2 separate regions of the Homo sapiens genome follow, and region 1 is linked to region 2. Evidence: promoter capture Hi-C in human tissues and cell types (Jung and others, 2019). All regions are on one chromosome and are shown on one strand. The core of a region is centred on a gene start or on the middle of the fragment in contact, and the rest is flanking DNA. Distances in the headings are between cores, read along the strand shown. Region 1 has its middle 120 kb from the start of BET1. Region 2 holds the start of COL1A2 (collagen type I alpha 2 chain).

What was found. The method cuts DNA at HindIII sites, captures the fragments that hold promoters and counts their contacts. A contact is called where the count stands out against the background at its distance.
Region 1: a contact is called between a fragment that was not itself captured here and the fragment with the promoter of COL1A2 in region 2, in 1 of the 25 tissues and cell types used here (spleen).

What each region holds. Positions count from the first base shown.
Region 1 is chr7:94,118,169-94,122,076 of GRCh38, reverse strand. No RefSeq gene overlaps it. Among named protein-coding and RNA genes, the nearest start is that of BET1, 120 kb to the right of the region's middle. The HindIII fragment of the contact is 8,090 bases long and covers 1-3,908 here.
Region 2 is chr7:94,393,275-94,397,212 of GRCh38, reverse strand. COL1A2 (collagen type I alpha 2 chain) reads right to left here and starts at 2,318. Exons shown (of 52, transcript NM_000089.4): 1 at 2,112-2,318. The coding sequence starts at 2,181. The HindIII fragment of the contact is 19,147 bases long and covers 924-3,938 here.

The DNA of each region.
Region 1 (3,908 bases), core at 380-2,879, 270 kb after region 2:
AACTCAGAAAAGTTAGTGAATGTTCAAAGTTCAGCAGTGTTTCAGCTGTTTTCTGGATCAGGGGACATTGTAGATGGGCTGTGGGGTGGAGAGCTCACGGGAGGACTGTAGGTGGATAGGGAGAAATTCTAGGAGGCTGAAGACCAAGCCAGGACCTGGAGGAAGGAGCAGAGGTGTTGTTTGGACCAAAGGAAAGGTGCAGAGTATGTGAGATACTTCATCTGCTCTTGTCCCTGTAGGCTTTTGCATGGCAGGAGACAGAGAGAAACCCTGAAAGGAAGACTGAACCACAGGATTTCTGACCCTCTAGGTATGAACTGACCAACAAATCACTGCATTAGAATGAAAAATAATCAGAAATGACACTATTAAGTTGCTTGCCTGAAGTAGGTTGGGAGCTCGGATCAGAGATCTGACAATTACGGCTATAAAGAAAATCACATTTTCTGCTGACACGAATTTGTGATGGTGGAATTCATACCTGTGTTGCAGCTAAAGCATTTAGCTCCTATTAAAAGTTGGATATTCTCGGCAGCTGACGGAACAGGAGGATCTTCAAGATGTCTAAATTAAACTTTTCTTTTGCCAGTTAAACTCTTTTCTCTTTATCTGATTCCACTGGAGATAGAAAACAGATCCTTTTCCCACCCTCTGTGTCTTTGATTATTTTTCTTGTTCAGGGCGATTCTTTTATTCCCCCTCTAGCTTCCTATTTGTCAGACCTTAATCCATTTCAGTTTCTGTACACTGGATGATGTTCAAACCGAACTATAAAAGTATGCCAAGACAATGTTGAAAAAAATAAAGATGGCATTTTAGAGGCTGTATACTCTGTTCACCTAGTATACATTGTATTTTTATTTACTAAAAGTGAAAAACAAATTGCAAGAGATCATAGCTTTTAGACCTCAGAGTCAATCTTGGTCCATCTCATATTTATGAGCAATGTATATGACTTTTTATGGCCTTTATGATGGAAGATATTATGCCTTCTAGTCTGAGTTGGCACTTACTTGAACCACCAATCTAAATGTTGACTTCTGGTTTGAATGGGCCATTATGCATTCCAGGCCTCTGAGGCCTTGGTAAATTAGTAAGTGTTTCTTACATGGCAGAAGTCTTGCAATTTGGGAAAGTTGTATGAAAATGCAACTCAAGTGTTCCCATAATGTGGAATGATTTTATTTTTAGTTTCTTTCGACAGATCACGAAGCAATCCAACCCCAGTCCCATGATTTCTGACTGGTAATGGCCGAGGAAGAATGAGGGAAAATATTGTTCCTTTTGTTTGGGGACAGAGAATATTTATTTGATCTGTTGGTACCTTGAGGTTAGACCATTTTCCAGCTACTCCATTTCATGCTCTGCTCATTTCCTGAAGCATGCTTCTTATAAAGGGGCACAGTGATTAATCCCAGTCCTGGGAGAGGCAAGTCCATGGTTCTGATGGAGCAAACAATGGGCAATACTTTCTCTTTCATTCATACACTCTTTGAGCAACCCAGGAATCCACACATTTCACCCGGGAAACACTCAGGGGAAAGAATTGAGAGTTCGTTCTTCTCAGCACCTTCATGGTCCAGCTGCAATACTGAGCCTCAAAGCACGATCTCTTGAAATCAAGCTAGATTTCCCTGCTATTTATTTATAAGCAAGAAAAGTTGTCACTCTGATCTGGGTCTGTCATAGTGTGTGCCTCATTTTCTGTGTTGAGGATTAAAGGATTGGTTCTTGCAAATGAAAACATACTGTGATCCCTGCTAATCAGAAATTCTGCAGTTGGTTACACGGCTGAATGTAATATTACCTGTTGTCGGAAGTACTTTGTTAAGAACCTCAGGGGAGTGATAGGAGGAGAAAACAGGAGGTGACCAGCATTTAATAGGTTATGGTCATTGCCTTCATAGCCTTTATTTATTTTGCTGAATTCCCCTCATAATTTCCGGAGTGAGCTCCATCTTCGTTTTGCTATCTATTATTACACACACCACCATGGCACCCCTGGTGTTTGGAAAGTGCCCTAGATACTGGGAGCAGTGAATGAGAATGTGAATCTATCCCAAGGCTTGGGTATGAATTAGAGTAAATGCCCTTTTGAACAAGGTACTTGACTTTGTTTTGCAGAAACGTAGCTTTTGTTGCCTTTTAAATATCCTTTAATTCTCTCAGGGTGTGAAATCCTCTATTAATTTGCCCAGTTTCTATTAACCAAATCCCCTATATCCAGGTGGGATATTTACCTCAAACACTGCTGGAGAATTTCCAAAATATGGTTGAATGTATATCAAAATTTTCCATTCTTGAAGATTGCTTAGAGGAATTGAAACATACATTTTAACAGATAAAAGGAGTGATTATGAATTACTTAAATTGCCAGTTTCAACAACATTTAACTTATTTATTCAATATAGTATTATAGTTCTATAATACTATATATAGTACATATTTATTTTGTTTTATAATAGCAGCACGTGGTCACTTAGGATAAATTGGAAGAGAAAGAAACAGAAGTTATTTTGATGTAGTTTCACACTCAGAGATAAAAACTGTTTATATTTAAATATATTTCCCAATCTTGGTATATTTTTATAACTTGCTTCCTCACATATTTGTAGTGTTTCTCCCATGTTACTAAATATTTTTAAACATGTGCTTTTGTGACTAAATGACATTCTATTAAACAAAATTGCCATAATTTCTTTAATGCTTTGTTATTACTCATTTAGCTATTTCTTATTTTTTGCTATTACAATCACATTACGGTGAATGTTTTTGTGCATATTTGATTATTCCTTTAGAAATTCGAATTAGAAAAATTCCTGAGGGTTAAATTATTGCATTAAAACATTAACATTTTAAAACCATATACACTGTCAAATTGCCCTTCGTAATTTGCCCTGGCAATTTACAGTTTCTTCAACAGTGATTAAAATATGTTTTTTTTTAAACAGGATAAATCAGCTCTTCTAATAAAGAGAGTTTTTGATTTAAATAAAAGGTGTTTAAGATGTTAAAGAAAGGAGTTAATAATTTCAGAGGCTGTGATAGATGACACTGAGATGAGAAAACAGAAAACCATGTATAGTCTATTTCCAATTCCTGCTCCTTCATTAATTTCTCTCAGTATGAGCTGCAACACCAACAAAAGTTGTTTTTATTGCTTGCTTGCTTTTTCTTTTTCTTTCTTTCTTTCTTTCTTTCTTTCTTTTCTTTCTTTCTTTCTTTCTCTCTTTCTCTCTTCTTTCATTTCTTTGTTCTCTCTTTCTCTCTTTCATTCATTTGTTCTCTTTCTTTCCTTCTTTCTTTTTCTTTCTTTCTTTCTTTCTTTCCTTCTTTCTTTCTTTCTTTCTTTCTTTCTTTCTTTCTTTCTTTCTTTCCTTTTCTTTCTTTAGTTTTTGGCATTTGTTTGTTTTGTACTTTAGGGGAAGAATAATTCCTAATACTCTCAGTAAACTTATATGAGTTTCTCAGACCAATAAAGTGTCACAGAAACTCTGATCAGTGTGATTTCTGAAGGACAGTGGATCAACACATAGGCGTTCAAGAGCTCCTCTTCCACAGGACTCATTTTACACTCTGTTCAAATGTCTCCAGCAAGACTTAAAGGACTCCCAAACTATAGAAAGATCCTAATAAAAGCCCCAATCAGAGATTACAAGAGCCTCTGCCTTATTCTTTCATCTATTGTCACAGCCTGTCAGGCTTTCATTAAATTTCTGTCACAATAAGCCCTATATAATTCTTACACATCCTTCTCCTGTCCCTGCTTCTAAGCCTTGGCCATGATGTGTTCTTTCCTAGTTCATCTTTTCTCAAACCAGTCTCTGTGACTCCAAAGCTGTGCTTAAAAGTTTGTTTCCTTACAAAGTGTTCTGAATGTAATCTGCTCATTTTAGTCCCTTCTTTCT
Region 2 (3,938 bases), core at 1,069-3,568:
TGTACCATTCTTAATATCCTTTTTCAAAAGGTCTAATTTGCACATTATTAACTATGAAAATGGATTAATTCAGACATCTGAATTTTGCTTTAAATTAGTTCACTTAAATTAGGTAAGATCATTTTACCAATATGTATCATTTTTGTCTCGGAGAAAGAGTTTTGTATAAATGGAAAAACCGGATTAAAGATCTTGAAAAATAATAGAAAAAATAAACAAAAGTACTATCCCCCCTTTTGCCATAATTGTTATAAGTCCTTAAAGAGTGAATTCTTCTCCTACGGTACAAAAATTATAGGTTAATACAGGATACAAGTGTGGCCAAGCTTGCAGTAGGATGAATCACCCCAAAAATTGCTTTAATTAGGTGGCCAAGAAGTGCGTTATTTGAAGTGAGAACATCTGTTGCAACAGTCACAATTTAGGAGGGTGGACCACATCCAGCACTGACATTTAAGGGCAATTTACGAGAATTACTGTTAAATTACAAGAATGATATGTTTACTTCATTGTGTCCATCAGTAGGAAGAATAATTATGCCTGACTTGATTAACGGAAGTCCTTATGATTTTGGAAATTTGCCTTTTAATTACTCAGACATGGACCATTTTGAAGAATGTGTGTTTGATAACATTTATTCCAGACTGTGGTTGGCTGTTGATCAGAAGGTAAGTTGCCTTTGTACCTTCAAATTTCCCTAAGTCTGCCTTCATTTTATTCTCTAGGAGCCGACTCTTTCCTCCCACTCTCAAGATCTCATTAAAAATATGAACTCGGTAATGTGAATTTGTTCACTGCAATTACTCCTTAGTATCCACAGTATGTATACTAAAAGTGAATGAAGGGGGAAGAGACACACAGACACACAGACACACACACACACACACACACACACACAAGCACACAAATGCATTAGAAATTATGCAGTGGTAGACACCGTGCTGTGTGGGTGGAACAACTTTTTGGAGTACTGGGTGTGGTCAGACAATACCATCCCCCATCTAGTCAATATCTTTGTCTAGCACTTTGGCAGCCATTTTCAAGATGAAAACGGACTGATCTTCTTCATTCTCTGTTGACATGAAAGTCTGGCCATGGAACCTAGAGCTGGAAAGTGGCCTTGGGGTCCCTTTAATCTCTGTCTCACATTTTAGAAAAGGCCGTTTGACTTGCCCAAAGTCACGCAGCAAATTGGTGTCAGACTCATGGGAAAAACCCCGGTCTCTTGAGTCTCATCTCAATGTTGATATTTCTCAACTTGCTGCGTTCATAATGTTTGCTTATCACTGGGAACATGTCAAAGGGGTAATTCTCAGGCTCAAACAAAATTTAGAGCAGATTTGAGTTAAAAAATGTTACCATTTCCATGACTAGAAAGTGAATTGAGACACTTATATTACTTTTCAGAATGTACCCACTCCAAGTAGCATCCATTCTTCTTTCCAGGGTTCACTGACTAGCCACTGGGAAAGGCTCCAACCAGAAATGCTGATCATTAATCTGTATAAATCCGTAGAAGCTTTAATTGGGATTCCATCTGCTTAAGGCCCTGTCCCCTGTACTTTCATTTTCCTTCCTCCAGAGGGCGCCTTATAACCATCATCATATCAGCATCGTCATCCTCCTCCTCCGGACAAGCCTTACAATGCCCAGAAGATAAAAGCTCTTAGGAGGTGAGTTTTACATTACTCAGTTGAAGGGCTTTCTAACGCAGGCCTCAAGTTTTACAAGGTGGACATCAGTGCGGTTATGGGGCCTGTGGGGTGCAGGCCCTTGACTTCCTCCACCACATTGGTCGTTAATATCTCATCCTTAGGGAAAAAGACCTTCCGCTCCCTTTGGGGGTTACTAAGCTGAGGAGCCAGACCGAGTTAACTGTCTCACTCTGAACTTAGAGGAAAAGTTCCCTAACTTTTGGCAAGGCTTTTATGTTTTCATTTTTTAAAGTAATTTCCATGTTTCTTATCAATTCCGGCGTTTTCCCACATGCCTGAGAGTCTGCCCTCCAAGTGTACCTGGAATTCAGGTTACAGGTTTTCCTTTTCAGGGCAGGGTGCCCTCCCATCTAACCTCTCTACCCAGTCTCCCCCAAACAAGCTGAAGGCACTTACATTGGCATGTTGCTAGGCATAAGGTTACTGCAAGCAGCAACAAAGTCCGCGTATCCACAAAGCTGAGCATGTCTAGCACTTAGACATGCAGACTCCTTGTGTCGCAGAGCCCCTGGGTCACCGGCGGAGGTATCACCTGGCGGGCGCGGGCATGCAGTCGTGGCCAGTACCTCCAACTTAGCCGAAACCTCCTGCTGCCGTGGTGCTAAAATAATAAAGCCCGGATCTGCCCTATTTATACGGCAAAAGTTTCCCTGGCCCTAGGGTGCCTCCAAAAGGGCCTCCACCAATGGGAGGGCTGGGGCTGGGGGCCCGGGCAGCCACAGCTGGGAGGAGCCTGCGGGGGCGCAGAGGAGGGAGCGAATGGGGGAAGGGACGTGGCCACGGGGCTGGCTTCTTAAATTGGTTCCATTCTTTTTGAGGACGTGGACACTTTTGAGGCTTTCAAGGGGAAACTCTGACTCGTTGTCTGCATACCTCCGCCCTCCGCATCCTCCCGCCCTCCCCCGCCCTTTCCAAGTTTGGAAACACTATGGGACACGTCGGAGTGCTCTGCAGCCCCGACATGGGCAGAATTTGCAGATCTCCGGCGATCAAAGCAGGAGCTGTCCAGTCCCGCCTCACCTGTGCCCTGTAGGCCACTTGTAGGGTGGAGGGCTCCAGCGGGAGCGGAGGGGGCAGAGAAGGAGGGAGGGAAGACTCGATAGCGTGGCGCAGCCGGAGCCCGCCTCCCCGCCCCTCCACCCCTGCACCCCGCCCCCAGCCCCGTCCAGCTTTTCTCTAGCTTTGGGGCTCGTGTGCGCCCACTGTTTCAGCAGTGATGCACTCTCTTTGTCTTATGACTTCGGGAAAGGGCGGGTCCTGTCTGTGGAGGGCTGGGTTGCAGTCGGAGGGCGCCTTTTGTTGGCAGGTGGGCTGGGGAGCAGGCTCGAGGCTGCTTGGCACCCGGCTACAGGGAGGATAGGCTTTGCGAACTCTAGACTAGACCGAGTCACCTGGGGAAGTCCTTCGACCTCCTAGCTTGCCTTTGCTGAGGCTCATTCCAAAGAGGGTCTTTTGGGGGATGGTCTGGCACTCCGACACGACTCCAACCGACCTGGAGACCGAGAACTTATTTCTCAGTCTCTCCTTTCTGAGGCTGCGGTGGGGGATCTTTCATGGTTTCCAGTCTCCCCTCCCCTTCTCCATGGGCTCCTTGTCTGGATTTACCAGTTCTACCCTGAGCCTGGACCCTTCAACCCTCCCGTGAGCCCCCCGGTCCCTCTTGACCTTGCTGCTTACTCTCTGTCCCATCTCTTACAGCCACACCCAAGCACCTCCCCTAGCACATCCAGAGGCCCTTCTGATTCGAGCTTGGGGTCTTCGTAGTCTTCGCTGGTAACACCCCAAGCAGTGCGCCCACCAACGTGGATGTTAACTCTCTCCCCAGCACCCAACTTCCCTCTTCTCTGGCCGCCTCCATCCAACCCTCCACTCCCTACTAGGGAGAGGAGGAACTGGTACTTTGACCCTGAGGTGGGAGGCCAAAGGTCCTGTGCCTTTTTCTAAAGCCTCTTGGGATGGCATTCCAGGCCCTAGGTTTGAAAGGCTGTGTGTGTGTGTGTGCGCGCGCGCGCGTGTGCGTGTGTGTGTGTGTGTGTGTGTGTGTGTCAGGCCTCTCCTCTACTTGCCTAAGGTCCCCATGAGGCAGCGGGGGCCTAGTTAGAGTGCTGCTCTATCCCAGAAGTCATCGCAAAGGGGGCATCTTTAGGTCAGTTCTGTCTCTAAGAAACAGAAGCAAGTGGGCTGTAGTTCCCTGAGAATCTTTTTCCCTTCCTTCCCCCCACC